Regions from separate parts of the Homo sapiens genome. Here region 2 is linked to region 1. Evidence: promoter capture Hi-C in human tissues and cell types (Jung and others, 2019). All regions are on one chromosome and are shown on one strand. Each heading gives the region's core, a stretch centred on a gene start or on the middle of the fragment in contact. The rest is flanking DNA. Distances are from core to core; before and after follow the strand shown.

The links. The method cuts DNA at HindIII sites, captures the fragments that hold promoters and counts their contacts. A contact is called where the count stands out against the background at its distance.
Region 2: a contact is called between a fragment that was not itself captured here and the fragment with the promoter of EXOC1 in region 1, in 1 of the 25 tissues and cell types used here (small bowel).

What each region holds. Positions count from the first base shown.
Region 1 is chr4:55,852,283-55,854,969 of GRCh38, forward strand. It overlaps EXOC1 (exocyst complex component 1), which reads left to right and starts at 1,366. Exons shown (of 19, transcript NM_001024924.2): 1 at 1,366-1,671. RefSeq lists a silencer at 1,158-1,257. The HindIII fragment of the contact is 5,967 bases long and covers 1-2,687 here.
Region 2 is chr4:55,646,906-55,649,592 of GRCh38, forward strand. No RefSeq gene overlaps it. Among named protein-coding and RNA genes, the nearest start is that of NMU, 12 kb to the left of the region's middle. The HindIII fragment of the contact is 4,269 bases long and covers 1-2,687 here.

The DNA of each region.
Region 1 (2,687 bases), core at 116-2,615:
CTTCTTAGAAGGTCCTAAGGGACTAAGAAAACATTCAAATATGGTGATGACCAACTCAGTAACACATTCTTATACTGCATCTCCCTTTTTGTTTTGTCTTCTTCCTCTTCCCTCATTTTGCTCCCTGGGATCAAATTTCCAAATAAACTATTGCATATAAGTGTCACTTTGCAGGGAATCCAAGAGGAGAGAGGATAATTTAATTTTTGGACACACAAGTTTGAGGTGTCTATAAGACATCCAAGTGGAAATGTCAGGCGATGGGCAGTATATACACAAATCTTGAGGTTCAAGAAAGAGATCTAGGCTTCTGAAATGCAATTCATTTCCCAACTTTGAGGAGGGCTATAAACATACAGGTAAATAAAAGAAAGATAATAGGACCAAAAAACACATGCAATTGTCATAGAGTGTCCACAGTAAGCATTCCGGTGCCAAGCAGGAAAGGGTCTTTGTAAAGATATAACCAGATCCTGCTCTTAAAAGGGAAGTCATTTGATGAAAGTGAAAAGTATTCTAACTACTGTTTGCTCATTTAAATTTCTAGCACATTTATCTGATCTGTACCTCTCTTTGGTCACTTATTTTGTGTCCTATTTTATATATATTTGTACCTACACCTTGTCTAGTCCTACCACACTGTGAACTCCTTTAGGTTAAGATTCATGCCTGAATCACCTCTGTACCTGGAATCAAAGTGCCTAGCATTAAAAAAAAAAGGTGCCAGGAATATTGAATAAATAAAACACCTACCTGCAACCAGCAACATTGGCATCATTTATGCATCCCAAACTTAAATATGCATAAGCATCATCTTGCTAAGATGCAGATTCTGATTCAGTAGATCTGAAGTGAGCCAGAGAGGCTGCATTTCCTAAAAAGCCCCCAGATGATACCCAAGCAGCTGATCCACGGACCACACTTTGAGTATCAAGGTCATGAGGACAATGGTTCTTGACCTTAGCTGCATATGAGAATCATCTGGGAAGATATTAAAAGTACTGATGTCTGGGTCCCACCCGCAGGGATTCTGATTTAACTCATTTAAGCTCTCCAAAGTTTAAGTAGCAAAGATCTAGAGTTAATAGAGCTTTACGTATGAAAAAAGAAAACATTTAATCGAATTTCTTCTTAAATGAATTGCTGCAAATATCTGAATAAATAACTCTTAATCCCCAACTCCCAAGTCAGTTTCTGTGCCACAAAGGCCCCGCCCCTGCCCTTCCCTGACACGCCCCTCCAATGAGGCCTTGTTCCGCCTGGCCACGCCCGTCGGTTGGCGCCCCGCCCCTCCGCGTCTATTGGCCGCTCCCTTTTTCTCCCATCGCTGCTTCTTCCTTCTCTACGCGGTCAACTTCCGGCGCGGAGTTTGTCACGTGCCCGGATATAGGAAGTGTTGGGGGAACGGCCGCTTCCCGTTCAACGCTTTATTGAGGGGCGTATCCTAGTGGCCCCCATCCGGTCTCCGTTTTGGAAGACCCGCCTCGGCACAGCCAGGCTCAGTCCGGCCTTGCGGTAAGCCTTCGGCCGCGGCTGCCCGGTAGTCCCGGCGGCGGCGGACAGACGAGCTGACAGGCACCAGGGTCTAAGGCGGCTCCTCAGTCCGGCTGCTGTCTCCACGCCTGGGGTCGGGCACCGCTCCTTCTGACCTTCCTTTCCCCGTTTGTCCCGGTAAGACGAAGTTTGGTCAGAGCATTCTCCAGTCCCTTGTCCTCGGGTCTAGGAGAATGCGGAGCTGGGAGGGCAGTCCTCACGGGCCCCATTACGGTTCCGCCCATCGGAACCAGATTTTGTTTGTGCAAAATGACCCTGATCGTAAGCTCTTTGGCGTGGTCCAGGAGAGGAGAGCGTGACTGTGCCTTCCTCTTTGTCCAAATTCACATCCCGGCCCCCCAACCCCAACTCCCCCCCACCCCCCGCCAAATCTCTTAAGTGTATTTCTCTATTTCCTTGCACAGTTATATCTTCTAGATGGCAATGCTTCATGCATTAATATATCTCAGCAGCATACAGGGCCCAATGCACACGGGCACTCACACTGACAGGCTATTTGTCACACAGTGTGGTGGTCCAACTGAGCTGAAGGAAACAACCAGTACAGAGTAAGCAGTGGATGGCTGCCTTTGGAACGTGGTCAGATATGGGTTCTCAGACCTGGAGAATAATTTTAGAGGACCTCTAGGGATTTATTTACTGACTTTCAGAAAAGTACCGTAAAGACTGAAGAGTTAATCACTCGACTCTTAGGATGTAAATGCCATAGAAACACCCGGCTTCAGGTCTTCATAAACATATCTGTCATGTTGACTACTGTAACCTAGAATAGTGTCTGCCACCTAATAAGCATGAGTATTTGCTGAATGAATGAAGAGTCACATACTGCTTTTCATTATGGCTAACTCCTTTATGAGGTATGCCCAATCCTGTCTTGTTTTGCCTCTTACTGTACACTCAGTTGCTTTTAGCCAGAGAAGGAGTATGTGGTAAACGTTGGTCCCTATTATTCATTTGACCAGTTTTTACTATTCAGTTCTAATTACCTTAATAGATATTTAAGTATCCACTAAACACAAAACTATGATGAACATCCCTCCCTTCTTTAAGAGAATTCTTGAGATAGAGAAGCTTATGATTTAATGAGCCCATTAGACGGCAAATGCAGTAAGTGCTGTAGAAATTTAGAGGAG
Region 2 (2,687 bases), core at 66-2,565, 210 kb before region 1:
ATTACTTTTGCACCAACCTAATATATGTTTAATGTCTATTGGTTCAATTGCCAACAATTGATTGGTGGCAATTGTTGATCAAATAAAACCAACTTGAACTTTTTTGCTTTCATCCTTCTCTCCTCCTATACTTTTATTCCCTTTTTAACATGGTGGCTCACCCTTGTAATGCCAACATTTTGGGAGGCCGAGGTGGGAGGATTGCTTGAGCCCAGGAGTTCCAGACCAGCCTGGGCAACATAGGGAGACCCTGTCTCTACAAAAATAGAAAAATTAAAGTTAAAATTTAAAAATATCAAAGAATTGCTTCTAACTCCTATTCTATCCCACCACATCATTATTACTCTATCTTAGAGATCTTCAGGTATACGGAGTTAATTCTATACTGGGAAAGGCATTTGAGGTAGATAGTATGTTATCTTATTGATGACATCTTCCTTCCTTGATCACCTGATAGTTAACAAAAACTTCCTTCCTCTCAGCACTTCCTTTCTCCTTTGCATAGCTTTTTCCCCCTGAGCACTTACAGCCTCCTGATAATACCATACTATATGTCTATATCTAGATAATTCTTCATTTGCTTATTGTCTATCTGTCTCCTTTTAGTAGAGTGAGAACTCCAAGTAAGGTTTTAAATCCCTTTTATCCTTTTAAAAACACTCATTTTATATTTGCTTTTATATTCTTCTAATATCTCAAGTTCTTGGTGGTGTCAAGATAACTTGGCACATAGTGGGCACTACAGAATTTATGTAAATGAATCAGGGAAATAAATAATCTGATTTATGAAGCTTCTATTTATACTATTATTCAAACTTTAAGCACATATGCATAAATGGTGATATACCCTTAAACTATACTGGAATAATGAACAATCTTTCACTGTATAAACCGTTGCTTAGAATCTTCCTGAGTTCTATTTCCTATTTTGTTGTAGTCAATTTGGGAGACGAGAACCTGGAATTGATAAAGAGTCAATTAGCATATGGTGGAAAATAAAAATATAGAGGTATTATTAGGAACTGGGATTATCTAACCAGGAGAGCAAGGATTCTTGGAGATAGTGTGACCTCATGATTGAGAGATTGAGCAGTGGAGCTGGACAATCTGACTTTGAGTCATGGCAACACCACCTGCTCAGTGGAAGACACTGGGATGATAATTAGCTTCTGAAAGCTTTAGTTTTTGTTATTTTTAAAATGTGAGTGTATGATTTTTTGTTTTTTGGCCTACACAGCACCCCTGTTTTGGAAAACTGTGCCTTCCCTCTTTCTATAATAATCTTACACAATTCAGGGATCAATCTCTGGATTTGTGCAGGGGCTATGGTGAAGGCGTTCTCATTCTCTGTTAATCTGACGTGTAAGGACAATATAGCTTACATAGAGAGAGGCTGTTTTACAATGACACCAGCCAGCAATGAGAGATGAAGAGAGAGAGAAAGAGAGATTGACACTGATAAACATACTGACAGTCAGCTGTGCCTGAAACCAGGTCCATCCTTTGGAGTTTGGAGTTAGGTAAATCAAAAATTTCCGTTTTTCTTTTAAGTTGGGTTTGGGAAATTTGCAACAGTGACCGAAACAAAATACATACCCAATAAATTTTAGTGTGTTGGTGATGATAAATGGAGGAGGAACAGAAGTCATCACATAGCAGAGAGGGCTTTAAAAACTTCTAAAGTTTTATTCGATTTTGTGTGTATTTCATAATGAGAGTGGCAATGTCTAAAATAGGAAGAACAGACATGAGAAAGAGCAGAATTCATTTTCTTCCACCAAACTTTCAAAGACCTAGACCCACCAATTCTTCAGGGAGAAAGGAGGCTACTATACTAATTACTACATAGCCTCTTACTATTCGGGCCTTTCCATAAACACACAACCCAAGCTCTCACCAATTTTTAAACACTTTTAACTTTGATGTAATTATAGGTTCACAGGAAATTATCAAAAAATGTACAATGAGGTCCTATGGATCCTTCGCTTAGTTTTCCCCAAGGATAACATCCTGAATAACACGATATTAAAACCAGGAAATTGACATTGGTACAACCCATAGAACTTATTTAGATGTCACCACATTTACATGTACTCATTTGTGTGAGTGTGTAGTTCTATGCAATTTTATCAAATACGCAGACTCTTGTAACCACCACCGCGGTCAAGATACAGAACAGTTCCATCCGCAAGCCTCCCTTACATTATCTTTTTTTTTTTTTTCAGATGGTATCTCGCTCTGTTGCCCAGGCTGGAGTGCAGTGGTGTGATCTTGGCTCATGGCAACCTCCGCCCCCAGCCCCCCTGCTGCCTGGGTTCAAGCGATTCTCCTGCCTCAGCCTCCGGAGTTGCTGGGATTACAGGTGTCCACCACCACACTCAGCTAGTTTTTGTTATTTTTAGTAGAGACTGGGTTTTACTATGTTGGTCAGGCTGATCTCAAACTCCTGACCTCAAGTGATCCTCCTGCCTCAGCATCCCAAAGTGCTGGGGTTACAGGCCTGAGCTTCCCACTGTGCCCAGCCACATTATCCTTTTATAACCATACCCACCCACCATGTTCTTATCCCCAGCCCCCGGCAACCACTAATCTGTTCTTCATCCCTATAATTTTGTTATTTTTTATTTTATGAATGTTATATTATTTTGTTTTATGAATGTTATATGTTTTATTTTATGAATGTTATT